Regions from separate parts of the Homo sapiens genome. Here region 2 is linked to region 1. The links are contacts of gene promoters, found by promoter capture Hi-C in blood cells and fetal thymus (Javierre and others, 2016). All regions are on one chromosome and are shown on one strand. The core of a region is centred on a gene start or on the middle of the fragment in contact, and the rest is flanking DNA. Distances in the headings are between cores, read along the strand shown. Region 1 holds the start of CCDC88C (coiled-coil domain containing 88C). Region 2 has its middle 3.9 kb from the start of RPS6KA5.

Evidence for each region. Contacts are between HindIII fragments. The CHiCAGO score rates a contact against its expected background, and 5 or more counts as called.
Region 2: a fragment that was not itself captured here is called in contact with the fragment with the promoter of CCDC88C in region 1 in 3 of 17 cell types (non-activated CD4 T cells, activated CD4 T cells and naive CD8 T cells); the score reaches 7.6 in non-activated CD4 T cells.

The regions. Positions count from the first base shown.
Region 1 is chr14:91,415,857-91,422,059 of GRCh38, forward strand. It overlaps CCDC88C (coiled-coil domain containing 88C), which reads right to left and starts at 1,964. Exons shown (of 30, transcript NM_001080414.4): 1 at 1,775-1,964; 2 at 882-982. The coding sequence starts at 1,834. It overlaps CCDC88C-DT (CCDC88C divergent transcript), which reads left to right and starts at 2,390. Exons shown (of 3, transcript NR_184261.1): 1 at 2,390-2,484; 2 at 5,093-5,267. It also overlaps the pseudogene LOC112268126. RefSeq lists enhancers at 1-19, 410-539, 550-839, 2,445-3,089, 3,330-3,379 and a silencer at 1,460-2,379. The HindIII fragment of the contact is 7,798 bases long and covers 1-4,837 here.
Region 2 is chr14:91,061,466-91,067,534 of GRCh38, forward strand. It overlaps a transcript of DGLUCY not described here. Among named protein-coding and RNA genes, the nearest start is that of RPS6KA5, 3.9 kb to the left of the region's middle. RefSeq lists an enhancer at 1,901-2,050. The HindIII fragment of the contact is 2,707 bases long and covers 108-2,814 here.

The sequences.
Region 1 (6,203 bases), core at 714-3,213:
CTCATTAGCTAATAGATTTATGCTCCAGTATGACAACTTGCTCAGTCGTAGGTGAATAGGTGCGCACACGAGGCTGATCCACAGAGAACATTAGGATGTTTTATTTTGCTTCAAGTGCCTGTGAATCATCCCGACACTCAGTTCCAATGTTCCCTGCAGTTTGAGTTAAAAACAGAATGCAAAGGTAGAAGCCAACACCTACGTTGTGGCAAGCTGTCAATCAGGCCGTGCAGAGCTCAGCAACAGGAAAGGATGTGGTCAGATGTACTCGCTGGCAAGAGTAACTTCTACTAAGACCCTGTTCAGGCTGCATGCTTCCAAACAAACAGCACCATGGGACCCTCCTAACACTGTGACTTTAAACTCAGTCCATACAGTAGGACTTAATGAATTGCACTTGCTTTGGGGCAACTGAAAAAGGAAGATGAAATGTAAAGGAGCTCAGAAACACAGACACCCTCATCTAAAATGAAACTTTACAGTAACCCTCGGATGCCTGGGCCCACCCCGACACTTCCTGTAACCAGACACTCTCCGTTACAGTTCCTTGCCCTCCAAAAGGGGACTTTTTCATTTCATTGCTCAAACCACAATTAAGTCCTTGAGTCTGAAGTCAATTGCACTATCTACACCACGTAAATGACAGTCATTCAATTCCAAATTTCCTTCATCAAACCAACTGCCAGACCCACTGTCCTGGAGTTCTTCAAACACCTACGAATGTCCAACAGGCACGTTAATACTGAGATACCAGCGTCTCCACCTTCAGAGAACTACCCCCCACCCCACACACACCCCGCCATGCAACCTTCCACTCCATTTCTACTCTCAAACTTTCTAACGCACCATTCTTTCCTTCCTCCGAGAAGAAGGTAACTTACATTTGCAGCATAATTTGGTTCAAAAAGATGCCGTCCACTAAATCCATGTACATAGTCAGGTTGTCCTGGCTGCCGCTTCCAAACGGGCCAAAAGTTTTCACCTGCGGGGAGGGGGACGAGGAGAGAAAGACAGGAAGTCACCCCGTGCGCACAAACGGTCCAAAGCTCTCCCAGGCAGAGACTGGACGGGTCAGTGTGAGCAGAAGGGGGTCACCCACGCCCACACCACCCTTCAGCAGGCACCAAGCCCGGCCTTCTCCTAGGGCCTGTCTCCCCTCCCCGCGCGGGGCAACAGACACGAGACAGGAGGAAAAACTTCCTCGCCACTTTTCTCCCGCGTTCCAGAGCGGAAGAAATAAAAATAAAAAGGACTTTTCAATAAATGTCTCACGTCTCAAATCCATTGTAAATCAGTGCGCCCACCCCAGTCTGTTCGCTTTCCCATTCGGCGCCCCCCATTCCCCACCCGTCACCGCCATCCACCGGCTGGTCTCAGGGATTCAGAAAAACTACATGAGATATTTGGTTGGGAAGAATGGGGTCCTTTTCGGGAGTGGCTAAACCCCAGGGACAGGAGTGACCACTGGGACCCGGTCCGCCCCGAGGCAGCCAGCCTAGAGCCCCAGCGGGAACAGGTGTACCCGCCCGGCTCCTGGCCCGGCCGAAAGCGCGGCGGGGTCCCGCGCCGGACGCACAACGGGGGCGCCGGCTCCAGAGTTACAAAGCTCCGGACTCCAGGACGCGGCCCCAACCCCGGCCGGGAGCCACTTGCTGCGTCCCTCGCGCCCCGGAGCCACCCGGGGCCCCGGCCGTGTCGGGTCTGCGGCGTCCCGTCGCCGGGCTAGAGAGAAGCCGGTGCACCAACAAAGGGGCGGGGAGCCAGGCGCACTCACCCAGGTCACCAGCGGGCTCTGCAGGAAGAGCTCCAGGAGCTCCGAGACTGTCACGTCCATGCTGAGGCTGCGCCCGCCGGCTCCGCGCCCCCCGCCCCGCGTCCCCGTTCCCCCGCGCCGCGGCACAAAACGGCTCCGCAGCGAGCAGCGGGCGCGGGGCTGCGGCGGCTCGCGCCCGGGAGACAAAGGCGGGGCGCGCGAGCCCACGTTCCGCGGCTTCGGCGGCCCCGCGCCCCGCCCGGGTCTGGGGGAAGGGGAGGGCCAGCCGCTCGGGGAGGAACAATACGGGCGGCCCCGCCCCTCGGCGGCCCTGGGCGACCGGCGCGCCGCCTCGCGGTGCCAGCCCGGGAGCCCGGGAGCCCGGGCGCGGGACCAGGCTACGCGGGGCGCTGGGAGGGGACTGGTGGCCCGAGGCGGGTGGGTCGCGGGGCCCGGCTCCCCGCCCGTGGGACCGCGCGCCCTCGCCGAGCGCAGCCTCCCCGCGTGTGGGGCCCCAGCACGTGGCGCATCCCTGCGCGCGTGCGCGTGCAGCCGGGGCCCGAGCGCCACGTGCGAGCTGGGGTGCGCGGGCACTGGTGCGTGCCGGGAGCGGGGACGCCCTGCCCTCCGAGGTTGCTCTGCCCTCCGAGGTCGCCCGCAGCTGCCGCCCGCTCTGGGCTTGGGGACCTCGGCCCTGCGCCTTTCCGCACTCCTGGCAGGTGCAGCCCCAGGTACAGTCAAGAGGCCCCGCAAACCCCCGCTCCTCACGCTTGTGCGCGGCGCGATAAACGCGCCCCGACCCTGGGGCTGGGCTGGAGGGCAAAGAAGAAACTTTATGTTGAGTTTAGGCCTTAGGGGCGCGGCCCCTCGCGCCCTACCGTGCCCCACCGTGCCATGTTCCGGGCTGCCTGCCTTCTAAAAGTTCCTGCAGGAAGCAGGTGATGTGGCCTCCCCGACCCGGGCCCGCCCCCACCACTTTGCCGGAGGCGAGCTAAATTCCAGCCGGGGTTCCTAGCAGCAGCTTAGTGGCAGGCGACAGGAAAAAGGGCAAAGGCCCCAACTGGCTGGAAGGCAAGCCCGGGGGCAGGACCTCCTTGCGGGACGGCACGAGGCAGGAGCCGGCTCCAGGCTGGTCTCGGCCTGGTAATAATTTCACACCACCAGCCGGTCATTGTTCAAAGCACTGTAGACCATTTTACTAATTTAACCCTAACGATCGCCGCATTTCGCAGCTGGGCCAACTGGTACAGGGTTGACCCGAAGGGCCCTGCGTGGCGCTTGGCAAGTATACAGCAGGCACTAAATGGCTGCCGACAGGCTCGGTGGTAATTTTGAAAGTTGGCTCTGTGCAGCGTTGGGGCTGCGGCATCTGCTGGTGGCGAGTGGTATTACAGCCCAGCGCTGGCGGACCCCGTTGGGCTGGGGAGGGTTGTGAGATTATGGCCTGAGAGCCAAGGGGGTCGGTTAGGGGTCCCTAGAGACTGTGGAAGGCGGGGTAGCATAAAACACAATGGGGGACTGCGGAGGAACTAAAATTTCGAGACTACATGGTTTTGTTGTGCACCAGAAGTTCATTAGAGAAGTTCCTTAATTGCTTCTCCGCCCGCCGCGATGGCACTCGACCCCGCGGATTAATTTAACAACTCTGATGGTTGCTCTGTGAAATTTAAAGAACAGTGGTTTAAGCAAAGACCACAAGAAAGAAGAATTGAGATCAAAGAGGAGTGTGTGCCATCGCTGTGGAGGAGTTTCAGTTGTGAATCATGAAATGTCCTGTAAACCATTTCAAGGAGTTTGATTTTTATACCAAAAACAATGGGAAGACACTACAGGTTTTTGGAGCAGCAGCTCAGACGTGTCGAAAAAGATGTTTTGATCCCTAAAATAATGAGAGAAAAGGCCAGAGAGAGGTCTTCTGACAAGTTCAAGATTTTACCAAATGTTGCAAGAACTCTGGAATCCTTATGGTAGTAAAATGCTGGAAAGAAAATTCTGCATTGAAAGAATGTCTTAACAGCTCACTATAATGACCCAGCCTTTTATGAATAATGCAAAGTGGAAAACCTGAAGGAAAAGGAAGAATTCAGAAAAACTGGAATTTCTACAAAGAAAAGTCTACAGAAGCTGCCCACAAGTGTGTAGACAAATATTCAGATGACATTCAGGATCTCTAATACTCATGGAAGTCGTTTATAGAATAAACCTTAAATAATGGACTCAAGAATGTGTGTTTGCTAATTATGTGTGTATCCTAATTATGGAAATATTAATTTTATCTGAAATAAAAATCTTTTTTTCTTTTCTCTTTTTTTTTTTTTTTTTTTTTTTTGAGACAACAGAGTCTCACTCTGTTGCCCAGGCTGGAGTGCAGTGGCGTGCTCTCTGCTCACTGCAACTCCGCCTCCCGGGTTCGCGCCATTCTCCTGCCTCAGCCTCCAGAGTAGTTGGGACTGCAGGCGCCCACCACCACGCCCGGCTAATTTTTTGTATTTTTTACTAGAGACGGGGTTTCACCGTGTTAGCCAGGATGGTCTCTATCTCCTGACCTCGTGATCCGCCTGCCTCGGCCTCCCAAAGTGCTGGGATTACAGGCGTGAGCCACCGCGCCCGGCTAAAAATCTTTTATTTAAAAAAGTTCCTTAATTGCTCATAATGTAAGTTAGTTCAAAAATAGGTATGATGTGTACACACACCGCTCTTCGCTCGGAAGCCTCTCTTCTGAAAAGTAAGGGATGCAGATGCGGCCAAAGTTGTTTTTCCAATTTTTTTGGAAAGACAAGGATGAGGAATCTTTAAAGTTATTTATTGAGGCCGGGTGCAGTGCCTCACACCTGTAATCCCAGCACTTTGGGAGGCCTAAGTAGGTGGATCACTTCAGCCCAAGAGTTCAAGACCAGCCTGGCCAAAAAAAATAGAAAAATTAGCTGGGTGTGGTGGTGCACACCTGTGATCCCAGCTACTCTGGAGGCTGAGAATCACTCGAACCCGGGAGGGGAAGGTTGCAGTGAGCTGCTATTGCACCATTGCACTCCAGCCTGGGTGACAGAGCAAGACTCTGTCTCAAAAAAAAAAATTTATTGAGTAAGCTTATTCTTTCACACTAAGAAATACAGTGGACAAATGCCTTCTGACAGTTGTGAGACTTTTCCCATCCTGGTGAGGGAATTTTCCCCTGGGGACATTGACAAGGCCCTGGGCCACAGCCATGTCAGGAATGTTTGCTTTGGGGTCAGTTAGCTGCTGTGTTGGTTCATAATCATTGATGTATCTGCTACCATGCCTTGGCTTGACTACGCCACCAGGATTAAAAGGATCTAACTCAGCTCCCTTGTTCCCTAGGAGGCAATGGGGCAGGCAAACTGGATGGTGCCCCAGGTGTAGCAAGCTTGGAAGGCTTCAAAGGACGGGACAAGTTTGGCCTGGACAAGTTTCCTCCTAGAAGTCACTTAATCTGCAAAATCAAGATAAGACCATTTTCCCCATGTGACTTGACAAGACAATATTAAAGCTCAAGGTGATGCATGTAAAAAGATTGTGGAAGCCATAAAGCTTTATAGAGATACATAATCACTGTCTCTTCCTCATCTCCTGCCCCATTCTGCTACCCTTGCTTTAATAAAAATTGTTTCCCCGAAGTCTCCGTCGGGCTGGGGCATAAGCTTCAAGGAGCAAATGCACAGACCCTCCACTGACCACTACACAGAGAGTCCCAATGCCCCTCCTCCATCCTTCCAGAACACCCTTGGCTTTCACTCCATCCATCTGAGCCTTAACTCTTTATTTTTAAGTTTTTCCTTGTTAATCTCTGGATATAAATGTATCTATTGCTTAATACATTGCTTCCTGGGTAGAAGCAGTATTTTGTGTTCTTCTGATAAAGGAATTTTCTACCCTCTCAGAAAATACTGACTCAGCAGTGTTAGCTAATGGCATTTCTACTTCACCTGATAGGAGCAGGAGCTTAAATTGTTACTACAACTTGGGGTGGGGAGAGGGAATGGCTATTTTTTTTTTTTTTCGAGACTGAGTCTTGCTCTGTCACCCAGGCTGGAGTGCAGTGGCGCAATCTTGGCTCACTGCAACCTCTGTCTCCCAGGGGTCAAGCTATCTCAGCTCACTACCATGCCGAGCTAATTTTTGTATTTTTAGTAGAGACAAGGTTTCGCCATGTTGGCCAGGCGGTTCTCAAACTCCTGACCTCAGGTGATCTGCCCGCCTCGGCCTCACAAAGTGCTGAGATTACAGGTGTGAGCCACTATGGCTGGCCACAAAATACTATATTCTATGATAGTTTTATATTCTGTCACAGATCTGACATTTTGGAACGTTCTTTTATTTACTTTATTTATTTATTTATTTATTTATTTTTGAGACAGAGTCTCGCTCTGTTGCCCAGGCTAGAAGTGTAATGGCTGAGCAATCATAGCTCACTGCAGCCTCAGTCTCCTGG
Region 2 (6,069 bases), core at 211-2,710, 350 kb before region 1:
GTACACAAAAGAACTATAAAGCAGAATTTGAAATAAAGCAGTCGTACAAAGCGTTAGAGAATCTCGCACGGATGGCAATAATTATTCCCAGACGAGGAACTGGGGAAAGCTTTTAGGGCAAGGAGGCATTTGAGATAACCAACGTAAAGGATGGATAAGAGAGAAATACCAGCAATAGACATTCCACACAGAGAGAGTAACTGTGAGCATTGGCCTACAGCAGAGAAGGCAAGGGTGGGTTAAGTGATTGATAAGGTTAGATGAAAGTATGATGTAAGAGATACAGCTGACAAGGTGAGGTGTGGTAAGATAATGGGGAACTAGGGATGCTGTGCTGAAGAGTGCAGATTTTTTTTAGTACACAGTGATGAACTGAAAAGAGGAGAGAGATAGCAGGGCAGGAATCCTGCTGCAAGGATAGAACTAAAGGGAACCTGATTTCTAGTAGCAGACACGAGAATGGGAAAAAGCAGAAACTTAAAGATGTACAGTTGGACGTAATTCAGATAGATGTGATCTTTTAAACTAAGCATGGATTGGATCAGGAGTCAGCACACTTTTTTCTATTAAGGGCCAGATAGTAAATATTTTAGGATTTGCAAGCTGTATGACCTTTTTCACAACTACTCAGCTCTGCCATTGTAGCGCAAAAGCAGTCATAGACAATAAATAAAAGAAGTAGCTGTGTTCCAATAGAATATTTTTTATGGACATTGAAATTTGAATTTCACATAGTTTTCATGTATCGTAATATATTCTTCTTTTAATTATTTTTGAATCACTTAAAAATATAAAAACAGGTCAGGCGCAGTGGTTCACACCTGTAAGCCCAGCACTGTGGGAGGCTGAGGCAGATGGATCACCTGAGGTCAGGAGTTCAAGACCAGCCTGGCCAACATGGCAAAACCCTGAATCTACTAAAAATACAAAAAATTAGCCAGGCATGGTGGTGGGCGCCTGTAATCCCAGCTACTCAGGAAGCTGAGGCAGGAGAATTGCTTGAATCTGGCAGGCGGAGGTTGCAGTAAGCCGAGATCACACCATTGCACTTCAGCCTGGGCAACAGAGCGAGACTCTGTCTAAAAAAAAAAAAATATATATATATATATATATATATATATATATATATATATATATATATATATAAACAATCCTTAGCTCAAGGGCAGTTAAAAAACAGGCAATGAGCCAGATTTGGCCTACAGGCCATAGTTTGCAGACTCCTGGATTCGACTGCTGTGAAAGACAAAACACAGAAGCCTTGCAAGTTCCTTCAGGTTGCTTTCACAGCTCCCTGGGCTTACCTGCCTGGAACATTTATCATCACACTAAACCATGACTGCCTACTTACTTGTCTTTCTCCTGCAAAAGTCATGTGCTATTTGGAGCCAGGCAATGACTGTGTGCAACTGTTCATTTGTTCACTCGAAAACTTTTATACCAGTTATATACCAAGTACTGTAATAGGTGCTAGAGACACAGTGGGAGCAAAACAGATGCAGTCCTTGCTCCTATAGAGCCTACAGTCTAGCAACAGATATAAATATTAATCACATAAAGAAATATAAACTTTCCATTGTGATCATGCTGTAAAGGAAAATTACAGGGTGCTACAATAGAATGTATCAGGGATGCCTAATTTAAGTTGGAGGAGCTGGAAGACCTTTGTAAGTAAGTATTATTTAAGCTGAGACTTTAAAAATGAGTAGGTTTTAACCAGGATGTGGCAAAAAGTAGCCTGATGTTCACCAATCTCATTTCCTCTTCCTAGACACACAGGAAGACTTTTTTTTTTTTTTTCTTACCTCCTTTGCAGTTAGGTTAGGGTCATATGACTATGATCTGGCCAATGGGGTATGGGCAGATCCTATTGGTATGATATATAACATTTTCAGGCCTGACCAGAAAACTCCTTGCATAATCACTCACACTCTTCTCTTTCAACTGCTGTAACAAAGGCCACATTTTTAATGTGGGTATGCCACAGACTGGGAGGACTCTGAACCCCTGAGTTTCCACTTAATTCTTTAAGGAGCCACCTGACCTATGTCAGACTGTGATGTGAGCAATACATACACCGTTTTAGGCATAAGCTAGTTAGATGGGATTATTTGCTACCAAAGCATAATCTAGCCTTATACTACTTCATATGTGTAATATGGAGGGATCAAAATTTTAGGAAGATGTCCTGAGGCAGGCAAAGAGCCTATTCGGTTGAGAGATTGAGAAAGGCAGTGGAGCCTTAATGCAGTAAGCAAGGGATGAGGTTCAGGAGGTGGGCAGAGGCCCGGTCAGGAAGTATGTGGTTGCTCTTATTAATATTTTTGGACTTTATCCTGTGTGAAGTGGGAAGCAGTAGAAGGAATTTAAACACAGGAATGATATAATCGTGGTAGTATTTTCAGAAGGTCACTGAAGTTAGTGTTTGGAGACTGCGCTGGAGAAGGCAAAATGGGATACAAGGAGACCAGTTAGGAGGCTATCACTGTAATCTGGGCAAAAGATGAGAGTGGGTGCAGTAGAGATGGAGAGAAATGGAACATTTCTATGTTTATATTTTGAACTTGAAGGATTAGACTTGGTTAGTGAGAAAAATGGAAATATCTGAAATGACACCAGTGTTTCTAGCGTGAGCAGCTAGTGGCTGGAAGAGGATGGCAGTACCATTTAATAATGAAAGGGACAAATTAAAGGAAGAGCACATATGAGAGAGAACATCAAGAGTTTAATTTTGAGACATCCAGGGCCAAAATTAAGTAGCTATGTGGATATATGAGTCTAGAGCTCTGAAGAGAGGTCTAGCATAGGGATGTAAGCTTAGGAATCACTGGCACATAGATGACATTTGAGGCCAGAGGTACGAATGAGATTACCTAGGGAGAAGCCTGGGTGCGGTGGATCATGCCTGTAATCTCAGCACTTTGGGACGCTGAGATGGGCAGATCGCTTGAATTCAAGACCAGCCTGGTCAACAAGGTGAAACCCTATCTCTACTAAAAATACAAAAATTAGCTGGGCATGGTGGTGCATGCCTATAATCCAAGCTACTCGGGAGGCTGAGGCAGGAAAATCACTGGAACCCAGGAGGCAGAGGTTGCAGTGAGCTGAGATCGCATCACTGCACTCCAGCCTGGGTGACACAGTCAGACTCTGTCTCAAAAAAAAAAAAAAAAAAAAAGAAAAGAAAAGTTGGAATAAGAAGGTGGAGCTAGAGGTAGAAAAGGAAAACCTGGAGAGTTTTGTATCTTGGAAGCCAAAGTATTTCCAGAAGAAGGGAATGGTCAGCTGTATCAGATACCCTAAGATGTCATATAACATGAGGTCTAGAAAGATCCACTGAATTTGTCAACTTGGGTACCACTGATGACAATATCCAGAGCAGTTTTGGCAAGGCAAATGGAAGGTGAGGAAGTAGTAACCATGTGTGGGGACATATTTTTCTCCAAAGGAAAATAGAGAACAAAGATCCTAGCTGGAGGGATCCAGGGAGTTTTTCGGTTTTTTGGCTTTTAATCTTATTTTCAAATAATTTTAAAATTGCAGAAGAGTTGCAAAACTTAGTAAACTTAGTAAAGCAGAAGCACGCCATATGATCACTTAAATGTGCACACATGTAGGAAGAGTTTCTTCCACAGACTTAAGCACTGTGCTGAGTGATAGGAGGGAGGGGAGGGCATGGGTTAGGGATCTGAGGAGAGTGGAAACAGGTTGGAACAGCCACTATGAGAAATAGATCTATCCAGGCAGCTTGTATAAACGCTGATTAGCACAGGGCTCCAGTGGAGTTAGAAAGCCTGAATCAGGATAGTGAAGTGTCTTTCTCTAGCAACTTACATATCCCCTCTGGGTGGGAGATGAGCGGTTGGGCAACAACCTGGTTAAAGTGAATGACCCTGGGGCCTAAGCTGGGTGAGAAGGCAATGAAGCCAGGATAAGCTGCTAGCCTGGAAGAATAGGATGGAGTCCAAGGAGTTGGCGCTAGTATGGATGAGTTCTCAACCTTGGCTGAACATCGGGATCACCTGGGATACTGAAAAATAACAACAAAACAAAACAAAAATCTCCACCACTCCTACCCCTAAAGAATGTGACTTAAATTGGTCTGGGGTTGGGCCTGGACTTTGGGATTTTTTTTAAAGCTCCCCACATCATTAACCTAATGTACAACCAAGTTTGTAATGCACAACTCTTGCACAACTATTAGAGCAGACAGTGGTAAATAAGAGCAAATTGGAGTTTTGGAAAAAACAGCAACTTTTCAGAGGTAGTGATGACACTAGAGAAAATAGGAGGGAAAATTATAAATGAGTAGCTGAAAACACCAAATTAAATGGGTGCGGGGCTTGAGTGATTAGTGATGTGACCAGACAGCTTGGAGTCAAATGAGGAAAAGTTGTTGAACTGGGGTGAGATAATGGACTATGGCCTGGAGGATGCAGCAGCTGGAAGTGAGGAAAAAGTCACTGCTCCCTCCTGCCCTGAGAGATGGAGAAGTAGAGAGGGTGGGGTCCGTGAAAAGGCTGAGACAGAGAGGTTGTCCAGCAAAAGGTCAGATTTCTGCTATGGCCAGAAGAGTAATCAAGAAAAGACCTTGAAAATATGTTTCTTCCTCTCAGAAACTGACTTTATCCACTGGGCGTGGTGGCTCACGCCTGTAATCCCAGCACTTTGGGAGGCCAAGGCAGGAGGATCACCTGAGGTCAGGAGTTTGAGACCAGCCTGGCCAACATGGTGAAACCCTGTCTCTACTAAAAATAGAAAAATTAGCCGGGCCTGGTGGCACATGCCTGTAATCCCAGCCACCAGGGAGGCTGAGGCAGGAGAATCACTTGAACCCGGGAGGCAGAGGTTGCAGTGAGCTGAGATTGCGCCATTGCACTCCAGGCTGGGTACCAGAGTGAAACCCCATCTGAAAAAAAAAAGAAAAAAAAAAAAAAAAAGAAGGAAAGAAAAGAAACTGACTTTATCCAGGCTGGCTTGGTACCTGCTGCCAGAACGGGGTCCGTGCTCACCCCCTTTTGTTGTAAGCCTATGTCTGTGGCACCATTCTATGTGGTCTCACCTATCCTTAGCTTTATACCTCTTCACTGAGAAGCGGAGAGGATCACTTGAGCCCAGGAGTTCTTGAATCCAGCCCGGGCACATAGCATGACCCCATCTCTAAACCAAAGGAAAAAGAAAAACCACTATCACTTGCCATAAACAGGAAGCAGGAAGTAAATATTAAAATAAATACAATGAAAACAAAATGATAGTAAGTTCTAGCTAGATACAGTTGTCTGCTGGTAGCTGAGTCTGAGGTCTATACTTTCCTTGCTAGAAAGAGTTATTTCGGCCGGGCGCGGTGGCTCACGCCTGTAATCCCAGCACTCTGGGAGGCCGAGGCGGGTGGATCACGAGGTCAGGAGATCGAGACCATCCTGGCTAACACGGTGAAACCCCGTCTCTACTAAAAAAAAAAAAAAATTAGCCGTGCATGGTGGCGGGCGCCAGTAGTCCCAGCTACTTGGGAGGCTGAGACAGCAGAATGGTGTGAACCTGGGAGGTGGAGCTTGCAGTGAGCCCAGATTGCACCACTGCACTCCAGCCTGGGTGACAGAGCGAGACTCCATCTCAAAAAAAAAAAAAAAAAAAGAAAGAGTTATTTCATGTTGAGTAGATTGAGGAAGAACAAAAAAAAGAAGAGTGATTGGTAAAAATTAGAGAAAAGCTAAAGACTACTGGCACCAAACCCAGGCTTGCTTCTTGGTATAATCACAAATGAAAGGGAACCAAAAAAAAAAACACTTTTTCATTAGGAGAGATGAGAAGTTTAGGTGGTACATGGACAGTCATTTAGTTATATAAGTAAGCAAGGGGGGAGAGGGCCTCACTTGGCGTAAGCCACTAGGACTTGATTAATCTTACCATTTAGGCAATGTGAGCAGGAAGTTCCTCACCTTTGCATTTATAGGAAGTAGGAAACACCCAAGGCCCACCACATCATACTTTCCTTTAACTGGCTCTATCAAAACACTTCAAAGTATACATAGATAAGAAAGAAAATCTTTCAAAAAGTCAAAAACTACA